Regions from separate parts of the Homo sapiens genome. Here regions 2, 3 and 4 are each linked to region 1. The links are contacts of gene promoters, found by promoter capture Hi-C in blood cells and fetal thymus (Javierre and others, 2016). All regions are on one chromosome and are shown on one strand. The core of a region is centred on a gene start or on the middle of the fragment in contact, and the rest is flanking DNA. Distances in the headings are between cores, read along the strand shown. Region 1 holds the start of SLC5A4 (solute carrier family 5 member 4). Region 2 holds the start of BPIFC (BPI fold containing family C). Region 3 overlaps SLC5A1 (solute carrier family 5 member 1). Region 4 holds the start of LOC105373000 (a long non-coding RNA gene).

Region 1 (2,854 bases), core at 144-2,643:
TGTATTTTTAGTAGAGATGGTTTCACCATGTTAGTCAGGCTGGTCTCGAACTCCTGACCTCAGATGATCTGCCAGCCTTGGCCTCCCAAAGTGCTGGGATTACAGGCGTGAGACACCGCACCCAGCCTACATTCAGTTTTAAGCACACACACAGGAAATTTATCTCCAGAAAACTTCGATCCACTTACCGGCCACCAGGCCATATCACGACCAGCGAGGAAGAAGCCTCCTATAGTACCTCGGTTGGTCTTCAGCATCGCCTGAGCAGAAGGGAAGACAGGTGAGGGTCAAGCCCCAGCAAGTGCACCCAGACACCCCAGAGGCTCTGGCCAGGGTGCTGAGAGGGGTGACTTCAGCACTCCTACAGAGAGAAACATTTCGCTGGAAAGTGTTCTATAGCATCAAATTTTAAAGGACTTCAAAAACAGTCGCTTTGTAAAAACCCAGGGCTGGAAGAACTTAAAAAAATCATAATCCTTAACTTCTATCTTAACTGCTCTGATTATTCTCACTTATGAAAACCATGTGAGGTATCATTGAGCCATGCTTGCAATAAAATTTGCAGTCTCGGCCGGGCACGGTGGCTCACGCCTGTAATTCCAGCACTTTGGAGGGCCGAGGCGGGTGGATCACAAGGTCAAGAGATCGAGACCATCCTGGCCAACATGGTGAAACCCCGTCTCTACTAAAAATACAAAAAGTTAGCCGGGCGTGGTGGCGCATGCCTGTAGTCCCAGCTACTTGGGAGGCTGAGGCAGGAGAATGGCGTGAACCCAGGAGGCGGAGCTTGCAGTGAGCCAAGCAAGCGCCACTGCACTCCAGCCTGGACGACAGAGCAAGACTCCGTCTCAAAAAAAAAAAAAATTTGCAGTCTCAAATTTATTAAAATAAAAAAATTCAACATAAATGAAGAGTCCAACTCACTAAATCAGAAAGTGAGCAAACAACAAAAGAAAGCGAAAGAAATGCGATAATAAAAATACACTCTTTGTCCATTATGCCAGGTGTTGGGGATGCATAGTAAATCTGAAGGTCCCGGTGCTGGCTGTGTGCACACGATGGGGTTATTAGGAGAATACATTAGTTCATTGTAAGCGTTATTTATGCAACACACAAGAAAATGATTCTGATAACACAATGACATTTGTGAAAAGCTTTGTCACAACCACACCCCTTCCCCCCTTAAGATACCCCCTCCTAAACCTTGTGCCCACCCTAAAAGCCACTGGGATTCCACCTACCCACAGCCCAACAGCCATCACCACCAGAAAATAGATGACAATGACTGAGATGTCAGCAGCATTTCGGATGTGGTCAGACAATGGAGGTGGCTCTGGGGTCTCAGCTATGGTGCTGGGGCTAACCGTACTGGCCATGGCTGCAGGCAGTGCTATACCCATTCCACGCATGAGCCATCTTTATATAAGTTCTGGGTTAATGATCAGCCTCAGGCAGGTGGGGCGAGATATCAGAGCCAGCTCCTGGATATGGAGACCTTTAAACCTCTTCTCCAAAGCTGTGGCACCCCAGCCCTCCACCAGTGAGTGCTAGCCTAGGTAGAGTGTGAGAATGAGGGATGCAGGGCCAGAAATGAGGGGAGAATTTGAGGTGGAGCATGGGGCGTTCTCTGAGTGCAAAGACAGGGTCTTTAAAGAGATTTGCCCAGGTGGAGGGGGGATTTGAGAGAAATGAAGACAGACAAGGAGGGGAGAAGGACAGACTAGAAGGTACCAGAAACCAGCCAGGAGGGACCGAATGCAATGGTCCTTCAGAGAACAGATACAGTTTCTGACCAATGAGCTATATCCCTTGACAGTGAAGTGAATTATGCCTTTCGTGGATTCCAAAGTCCCACATTTCTCTGAAGTGGGTTTCATGTGCCACAAAAAGACATTGGTGGCCTGTATAGGAAAGGAAGTGGCTCTTCAAGCACCATATGTGGTGAGTTGAGGGCAGAGCTGTGGAGAGCGCTGGGTCAGAGGGTTGTACAAAGAGTGAATCAACCTGGAAGCATGTGATGGGGATCATGAGGACTCAGGAAACAAGACTCCTGGACTACAGCCAAGAAGAAGTTAGAAGTAAAGCCTATGCGGTGGCTGACACCTGTAATCCCAGCACTTTGGGAGGCCAAGGAGAGAGCATCACTTGAGGCCAGGAGTTCAAGACCAGCTTGGGCAACATAGGGAGTCTTTGTCTCTATAAAAATTAGCTGAGTGTGGTGATGCACACGTATGGTCCCAGCTACTTGGGAGGCTGAAGAGGGAGGATCACCTGTGACTGGGAGGTCAAAGCTATAGTGAGCCATGATCACGCCGCTGCACTCTAGCCTGGGCAACTGAGCAAGATCCTGTCTCAAAAACAAACAAAAAAAACAACAACAAAAAAACAAAACCAAAAACACACATGAAAAAACGGAAAGCCCAGAAATTCTTCTTTTATACTTCATTTTTTATTGTGGCAAAGCATACATAGCATAAAATTTACCATTTTAATCCCTTTTAAGTGTACAATTCATTGGCATTAAGTACATTTACAGTGTTATGCAGCCATTACCACTATCCATTTCCAGAACTTTTTCATCATCTCCAAACAGAAGTATGTACCCACTAAAAACTAACTCCCCATCCCTCCCTCTCTCCAGGCCCTGGTAACCTCTGTTATTCTTTCTTACTATATAAATTTGCCTATTCTAGGTACCTCATACAAATGAAATCATACAATATTTTCCTCTTTGGTTTATTTCACTTAGTATGACATTTTCAAGGTTCATCCATATTGTAGCATGTATCAGAATTTCCTTCCTTTTTAAGGCTGAATAATATTCCAATACTCATATATACCACATTTTGTTTAT
Region 2 (2,854 bases), core at 99-2,598, 210 kb after region 1:
GCAGGAAAACATATTTTTCCTCTAGAAATTTTATGAGTGAAAGAAATTACTGGGGTATGAAGGGGTGAATTGTACATAACTTTTCATTGAATTGTTCAGTTACGATGATAACTTATGGGCAGGGGAGGAAAGGAACCTTGTCAAGCAAGGTGATGACTACTAAAAGGTTAAGTAATTTGGCTGACAAGTGCAGGCAGGGCTAGTTGCCTGTTAAAAGGATCCAAGATCACTTAAAAACCCCACCAGCAAGTTATCTATTTTGTTGCTTCTGGGGAATTGCTTCTTTCCAAGATTCAAAATCTCAGTAGTCATTATTTTTCCATACAAATACACAGACAGAATAATACTCCTAAATTAAATGGTCCTTGTGTGAGTCATCCTGACAGCTAAGAAAATGCCAGTCCAATTTAGAAAACACCTGAAACTCACAGATGGTCCTACTACTACTGCTGCTTGGCAAGAGCTTTGACTGACTCTGGAAAAACCGATTAAGGGAGTAATGAATGAGTAAAATGTAGCCTTCAAAACAGAGGCGCAGGTTGAAAAATTAAGTTCAACAGGTTTAAAGAAGTCTAAACTAGAAGGGTATTCCGACATATTGGTTAAGACAAAATGACCGTACATAAGAAGTCTAAATCGACAGGTATGGAACGTGGGCAGAATATTTCAAGGGATCCACTCCTCACATCTAGTTTTATAGCAACATCTCTAATGACAAGGACCTTGAGAATTCATAGCATGTCTTTTCCCCAAAACTCTATGCCTAACACCAACAAGTTCAACAGTCCAGGCAAGTGGGTGGCTAGTTTTGCTCTGGCAGGATCTAGGTCACTGATGTGCTTTAAGACCTGCCTTGAAAGCACAGAGATTATAACAACTCCTTAGTCCTAACCATGCTGATTTTGAGAGACAAGATAGAATTTTCTGCCACTGTGCTGGGTTCCCCTCTGAAATGGAGGCAAAAATAAGTCCAGATCACTGAGCAACCCTCTTAACATTGTTCCATGATGCAAAACTAAGTAGGTGGTTTAAACCAACTCTTTTCTCTCTTATGGCTGTTTAGCTGTCACTAAAGCTTTTGCCTAAGAAGCCTCCAGGTGCGCATATGTGACATCACACAAACAAACAAACAAAGATACAGAAAAATCTAGGCAGACAATAATAATAACCCAGGATATATGACAGCTGCCTGTTCAAAGTGTCCTACCAAATCTGGGACATCTCCAGTTTGGAGATCATGGCTGGCAGAGACCTGAAGTTTGTTCATGAGTCTTACCTCAAGCAGAGGAAGTGTCCAAAGCTGGAGAGCACCTTCGATTCTCTCTGCCTTTGAAGCTGATGTGTTCTCCACCTTGCGCCTTAAACTCAGCTGCTAAAAAGCCAAGATAATTAAGTCTGACTCATCTCAGTGGTGAATTTTTTTAATGCCTCTTTCAAAATGTGATACATAATTGCTTCACTACAATTACCCAATGGCATGAATGAGCACTACAGTATCTACCTAGATAAACAGACAGTGCCACCTATGCAATAATTATCTTCCTGCAAAACACACACACACACACACACACACACACACACACACCACTTGTGAAATTGTGATGGCTACTTTACCAAAATGATTGAAAACGGTGTTAAACTGCATTGGAAGAGGAAGAATTTTCCTGTCTGGAATCATAAGCTGGTTCCTTCTGGTCAGGGTGCCTGCGGTGGATGGCTCTACTACTGCCCAGAATACCTTTGGGACTTGTGGTGGATCATCAGATTCAGTCTGAAAGCATGAGGCTTGACAATCGGGCTGACCTAGTTACCTTATCACTCAGGGTAGGACCTCAGTTGGCATCTCTCAGTGTCCGTCCGCTCCTTTTCAGAATGTTATTAATGACTTACTGTTCCAGCATTCCTTAAACCTAAGTTGGGTGGGTGGGTTCATCAACTATTATGCAACTTAACATTTTCAGATTCCAAACTCCAGCCCTACTCTCATCTCCAATAAATTCATTTTAGTTAATGTGTTTTATCTATTTTTATTTTTATTTATTTATTTTTTGAGATGGAGTCTCACTCTGTCACCCAGGCTGGAGTGCAGTGGAGCGATCTTGGCTCACTGCAACCTCCGCCCCCTGGGTTCAAACAATTCTCCTGCCTCAGCCTCCCTAGTAGCTGGGATTACAGGAGTGCGCTACCACGCCCAGCTAATTTTTTGTATTTTTAGTACAGACAGGGTTTCGCTGCATTGGCCAGGCTGGTCTCGAACTCCTGACCTCATGTGATTGATCCACCCGTGTTGGCTTCATAAGTGCTGGGATTACAGATGTGAGCCATCATACCCGGCCATTAATGTATTTTAGATGGCCAGGGATTTGATTGTATGAAGTTTTTTTTTTTGTTTTTTGGTTTTTTTTTTTTTGAGACAGTCTCACTGTCACCCAGGCTGGAGTGCAGTGGCATGATCTTGGCTCACTACAACCTCTGCCTCCAGGGTTTAAGCGATTCTTGTGCCTTAGCCCTCTGAGTAGCTGGAATTACAGGTGTGCACCACCAAACTTGGCTAATTTTTGTATTTTTAGTAGTGATGGGGTTTCACCATGTTGGCCAGGCTGGTCTTGAACTCTTGACCTCAAGTGATCCACCTGCCTTGGCCTCCCAAAGTCCTGGGATTACAGGCATGATCCACCGCACCCAGCCTGATTGCATGAAGTTCTTATGGCTTATCTACACTTTTCTGGGTAAGACCCGGTGACCAACTGTCCTGGTTTCCCAAGAATGCAGGATTTTCAGTACTAAAACCAGAACAGTCCTGGGAAAATCAGGATGATAAGTCAGTCTGAAAGGAACCACAGACGCTTTCACT
Region 3 (2,854 bases), core at 259-2,758, 170 kb before region 1:
AATATTCCAGAAAGCAGAAAGGAGGTCCCTTACTTTTCAATGTTGTTTTGAGGATCAAAATAACGCATGTGCCTAAATGTCCTTGGTAAACTGTAAAACTCTCTGAACATGAAGAAAAGAAAACAAACAAACAAACAAACAAAAAAAAACAACCCTAGTGGGTTTGTTTGGCAGCTAGGAAGGACCAAAGACTAATGTCAGAGCACCCAGACTAGAGTGGCCTTGCTCAGCTGGAGTCAGCTACATAAGCTTAGCTAAGGTATTCCCAGCCTGGCCTTTGGCATGCCAAGGCAGAATTCATCTCTGAAGTTAGAATGACTCATGCGAGGAAGAATTTGTCCTAGGTTTCTTCAATTCACCAGGGAGGTTTCCTTAGAATCCTTTATCTGTACTGTTAGAAGGAAATAGAATATCATAAAAACAAGACTTTTATTAGCCCAACACTTTTCAGAAGTCTTTATAGAGGTCATTTATAGCATTATCTTATAACTTATGTGTTGCCTCTTTGTGACTAATGACAGCAAGGCACATATTAATGAGGGTATCACAGTCTACGATGGCATGTTGTCATAAAGCATTAAAAATTAACTACTCTGGAAAATCAACCAAGGGCAGTTTAAAGGCAGTGTCAGCTTTGTAATCTTTTCCTATCTTATTTACACTTATTAGCTAATCCACCAAATCAAACGTGTGTGCATTTAACAGAATTTCACTGCAATCAGTGAATGGGGCCCCTTGAATTTAAGTAACTTTATGTGACTGTGTAGAGGCATGAGAGGAGAGGGACCAGCATTATAAATATTCATTACAATTTCAAATGGCCCAGTGTGCAGAGTCAGGAAGAAGTGGCCATTTCACTTTTGGCAAGACTTATGCACAGCAGAGGCGCCTTCCTCCTCTTGGGCTACTGCAGAGGGCAAGGCAGAATGGAAGCGGTCCAGAACCCGGGAGAAGAATGCTTTCCTCACTGCAGACCTTTCCCACTTCCAACCACTGAGAATCACAAGTCCCTGGAGCCAGGACTTCCTGCATAAACACGAGGACACTGAGAATTAGAGAGGGGAAATGTTTTGCCCAAAGGTTTGCAGGCCTAGAGTGGCGGCACTGGGGCTAAAATGCTGGTTCTTCTGACTGCTAACTCCAGGGAGAGAGGAGTTTCTTTCTAACTCACCATCTCTCCTCCCACCTCCTGGCTCTGCCTCCCCTCCTTCACCAGGGAAGATGGTGACATTGGGTCCCCTGGGTGAGAGAATCTTCAGGGGAGATCTGGGCAGAGGGGAACTATGGCATCAGGTCCTCAAAAGGCCCACCTTCGGGAAGGAGGTCGAATCACCCTCCAGGGCTCACGTGTTAGCTCAGAAGCATGGAGTTGGTATTAGATGTGCTCTTTGCTAACTGATGGAGGGAGGGAATAGGAGATTCTCATAGGAGGGACAGGCAGGTATGGTGGGAAACTTAAACACTGGAGGGCCCTCAGGAGCAGCAATGGGATGGGGACTGGGAAACGGAACTAGAGAGGAGATGCAAGATATAAGAGGAGATGTGAGAAGTAAGAGTCCAACCCTGCTGGCCCATCCCCAAGGCTCCGTCTGGGTGCTGTTTGCGTGCCGTGAAATGTTAGGGTTTGTGCAGTGAAAACAGTTCGTGCATTCATTCCATCTAGGGAAGTCCAGTTTCGTCCACACCTGGAGATTTGAAAACAAAAGACTCAGCTGGGCGCAGTGGCTCACGCCTGTAATCCCAGCACTTTGGGAGTCCAAGGCAGGCAGATCACGAGGTCAGGAGTTCGAGACCAGCCTGACCAACATGGTGAAATCCTGTCTCTACTAAAAATACAAAAATTAGCTGGGTGTGGTGGTGCACACATGTAATCCCAGCTACTCAGGAGGCTGAGGCAGGAGAATCGCTTGAACCCAGGAGGCAGAGGTTGCAGTGAGTTGAGATCGCACCACTGCACTCTAGCCCGGGCGACAGAGTGAGACTCTGTCAAAAAATAAATAAATAAAAAAGACTCACCATGATCATCCCTTAATACTACCCTCCCTGGTATTGTTTTGGAGATGACATGAACATGCATTTGGGGTGACCCTGGTGCTCTCTGCTGGTTTATATGAGCAACTGCACCATCCAGCCAGGTAGAAGGTTCATTAGGAGAAGGCTGAAAGAGACAGGAAGGAGGAGAAAGGGTGAAGATGGAAGAACTGCATCAAGAATTCAGGAGTGAGGAGGGAGCAATTCTCCCAGAAATTACATGAAATAATCTAAATAAAACCAGCAAGTACCAAGCCTGCTATGTAAGAGGTGCTTGGTGATGTTCTGGTTGTGTCTGAGTCAAGATGGACTGCATCCGGGTTGGGGAGTTAAAATTACAAACTTGCTAAGTTTCTCCCCGCTCCTGGGTGGGGGTGGGGTTTCTCACTTATGGACTCTCCAGCACTCAGACTTGCTTTTGGGGACGAGCTCTGATAAACCTGTGTACACTGAGGTGCAAAAGATGGACAATAGCTCAGAGCAACAGTCTACAGGTGACTTGCAAGGAACCTCTAAGTGTTAATAGCTGTTCCTTGGCAAAAAGAGTTCAATAGTTGAGTGAGTTTGTGAGATGTCATGTACCGTGTTCCCTCCCTGGGGATGACTGTACATGGCATATATTAAAGGCTCAGAAAAGTTGTGTGGCAAAGAAACTGCCTTAATTCTGTTTAGCATTTTATAGACCTTTTTGACCATGGAATTCTTTTTCTCATGGAATACGTATTATCATCTTGAATAAAGCTTGCTTGGAAAATCAGGAGTAGAGAGACTACAGGCCCTGTAGGCAGCTGACCACTCTCCCTCCTAACTCCGCCTCTCCTCT
Region 4 (2,854 bases), core at 146-2,645, 130 kb before region 1:
ACTCATCCCCATCTAGGATACTGCAGCACCCGATGGTGCCCACAACCTGCCCCCTGCCATTGGCAGTGCAGCCCAGGTTAATGCCCCCAAACTGCTCCCTGATGTTGGCAGTGCAGCCACGGAAAGTGCCCCCAACCAGCCTCCCGCCATGGGAAGTGACTCCCGGGATAGCGCCCCCAAGCAGACCCTAGCCTTGGGCAGTGACGCCCGGGTAGGTCGCCCAACCGCCACCCACCCCGTTGCCGAGAGTGCAGCACCAGATAGCGACCCTAACATGCCCCCCATCACTGGCGGTGTAGCCCAGGATAGCGCCGCCAACCCCTCACTTGACGCGACAGTGTAGCCCCTGATAGTGCACCCAATCTGCCACCCACTGCCGGCACTGCAACCCCGGATAGTGCACCCGACACACTCCCTGCTGGGCAGTGCAGCCCCCCAATAGCACCCAACCCGTCCCTCCACCCCTGCCACTGGCAGTCCACTCCCGATAATGCCCCCAACACGTTCCTGGCTGTGGGCAGTGTAGTCCATAGATAGCGCCCCAAACCAGCCCCCAGCCATGGGCAGTGACACCTCAGATATCACACCCAAGGAGTTCCCCACCATGGGCACTGATGTCCCAGACAGCACCCCAACTCGAGCCTCGTGTGACCAATGCAGCCACAGATAGGCCCCCAACAAGCCCCCACCCCACCACTGCTGCAGGAAATGATGCCTGGGATAACACCCAACCATTCCCCACCGTGGGCAGTGCAACACCCAGTACTGCCCCTAACACACCCCCCACACAAGATGGCGCCCCCAATCCCCCCCTCACCTTGGGCAGTGTAGTTCACGATAGTGCATCCAATCCTTGGCCCCTGAGCTCACTGCCCCTCTCCCCCCGCCACAAGTCCCTGGATAGCTCACCTACTCTGCCACCTTTCTACCACTTTGGCTGTGCTGTACTCTACCTCACTGCCACCAGCCACAGTGAGGCGAGCCATGCTGCTGCAGGCTCAAGCCTCCAGCATGCCACCGGTGACAACTCCTTCTCTAATCTGGGGTCGGAACAGATGGGCGGGCAGACGTAGAAGAACCTGGAATGGCAAGACTCTCGCTTACAAAGGTTATGCAAATTAGGTTCCTGGACTACATGTTCTGATTGGATGAGAGAAAAATCTCTAGGTCTACTATGATTGGGCTTTATTTTCGTGTTGTGACTGGATGAGAGGAAGTCTTAGGATAACCAATCAGAACATGATAACAAAGTCCAATCAGACTAGGCCTAGAGGTTTCTCTTGTCCAATCAGAACATGTAGTCCAGGAACTTCATTTGCATCAACTCCACATATAAAGGATGCCAAGTGAGGCGGCTCCTCATTCTAGGCTCTTCAGTGTCCACTGGTGTAGCTGCTCCATTCCAGGCTTACAGGAGAAGGAGGAGGAGGCACTTGCCACGCACGCTGGAGACTCGAGCCTGCCTTGGCTCCCCTTGCTGCTGTGGTTGGTGGTGGCAAGGAAGACGACAGTGCAGCCAGGATGGTAAAAAGGTGGTGGGATAGGTTCGCTATCCCAGGAGGTACTGCCTGAGGCATGGGGGGTGGGTTGGGGTCCCTATCCAGGGCGTCACTGCCCGTGTTGAGGGGCTGGTTGGGTGTGCTATCTGGGGCATCACTGCCTGTGGAGGGGAGTGGGTTGGGGCCCTATCTGGGGTGTGCTGCCCGTGGCTGGGGGTGGGTTGGGGCACTATCCCAATCTGTACTGCTAGCGGCAGTGGGTGGTTTTGGGGGGCACTATCTGGGGATGCACTGCCTGCGGCCAGGGGGTGAGTTGGGAGAACTATCGGGTGCTGCAATGCCCTTGTTGGGCACAGGTTGGGGGCGCTATTGGGTGCTACTCTGCCTGTGGTGGGTGGGACATGTGGTATCTGGGGCATCATTGCCTGCGTCTGGGAGCTGGTTGGGGGCACTATCCATGGCTGCACAGCCTACAGCAGGGAGTGGGTTGAGCGCACAATCTGGGGCTGCAATGTTGGTGGTGGGGGACGGGTTAGGGTCACTATAGGGTGCTACACTATTGGCGGCAGGGAGGGGGGTGTTGAGGTTGCTATCGGGGGCTACACTGAGGCAGAAGTAGCGGGGTTTATTGGGAGTGCTACCAGGGACCAGAATGCCCGTGGAGAGGGGGTGGGGGGTTGGTTGGGGGTGCTACTGAGGATACACTGCCCATGGTGGGTGGAGGGGGGTGGGCTGGGTGCTATCAGAGATCTGTACTGCCTGTCAGGGAGCCAGTGAGTATGCTATCTGGGGCCACGTTGGCTCAGGGGGCGGGGGCAGGTTGGGTGCACTATTGGGGACTACACTGCCAGCGGCAGGGCGTGGGTTGGGTGCGTTATCCATGGCTGCACTGCCAGAGGCAGGGAGTGCATGGGGGGCGCTATCCTGGGCTGCTACTCCCGGTGGGAGCAGATTGGAGCGCTATCTGGGGTTGCACTGCTTGCAGTGGGGGGTAGTTTGGGTGCCATATTGGGGCGTCACTGCCAGTGGCGGTGGTCTGGTTGGGGCCGCTATTCATGGCTACACCGTCTATGGCATGGAGCGGATTGAGGTTGCTACCCTGGGCTGCAGTGCCCGTGGCTGGGGGCAAGTTGCAGGTGCCAGCAGGTGCTTCAGTGTCCGAGGCAGGGGCAGGTTGGGGGCGCTATCAGGTGCTGGTGATGGGGGGCAGGGTGTTGGGGGCGCTATCGGGGGGCTGCACTGTCACCCTGGCAGCAGGCAGCAGAGGTGTCAGTGACAGCAGTGGTCAGAGGAGCAGTCCTCCTCTCCCTGACTCAGGCTCCAGAGGGCCATCTCCTCCTGCTCGAGTTTCTGGG

The links. The method cuts DNA at HindIII sites, captures the fragments that hold promoters and counts their contacts. A CHiCAGO score of 5 or more calls a contact.
Region 2: a contact is called between the fragment with the promoter of BPIFC here and the fragment with the promoter of SLC5A4 in region 1, in 1 of 17 cell types (M1 macrophages). The highest score is 5.3, in M1 macrophages.
Region 3: a contact is called between a fragment that was not itself captured here and the fragment with the promoter of SLC5A4 in region 1, in 3 of 17 cell types (activated CD4 T cells, monocytes and M1 macrophages). The highest score is 6.5, in activated CD4 T cells.
Region 4: a contact is called between a fragment that was not itself captured here and the fragment with the promoter of SLC5A4 in region 1, in 1 of 17 cell types (monocytes). The highest score is 5.3, in monocytes.

What each region holds. Positions count from the first base shown.
Region 1 is chr22:32,253,954-32,256,807 of GRCh38, forward strand. It overlaps SLC5A4 (solute carrier family 5 member 4), which reads right to left and starts at 1,394. Exons shown (of 15, transcript NM_014227.3): 1 at 1,242-1,394; 2 at 189-260. The coding sequence starts at 1,376. The region is part of intron 2 of SLC5A4-AS1 (SLC5A4 antisense RNA 1); the gene reads left to right. The HindIII fragment of the contact is 3,569 bases long and covers 1,153-2,854 here.
Region 2 is chr22:32,463,098-32,465,951 of GRCh38, forward strand. It overlaps BPIFC (BPI fold containing family C), which reads right to left and starts at 1,349. Exons shown (of 17, transcript NM_174932.3): 1 at 1,277-1,349. The HindIII fragment of the contact is 5,490 bases long and covers 1,074-2,854 here.
Region 3 is chr22:32,079,004-32,081,857 of GRCh38, forward strand. All of the region lies in intron 5 of SLC5A1 (solute carrier family 5 member 1), which reads left to right. Among named protein-coding and RNA genes, the nearest start is that of SLC5A1, 37 kb to the left of the region's middle. The HindIII fragment of the contact is 2,523 bases long and covers 248-2,770 here.
Region 4 is chr22:32,120,594-32,123,447 of GRCh38, forward strand. It overlaps LOC105373000 (a long non-coding RNA gene), which reads right to left and starts at 1,076. Exons shown (of 3, transcript XR_938172.3): 1 at 818-1,076. It also overlaps the pseudogene AP1B1P1. The HindIII fragment of the contact is 8,321 bases long and covers 1-2,854 here.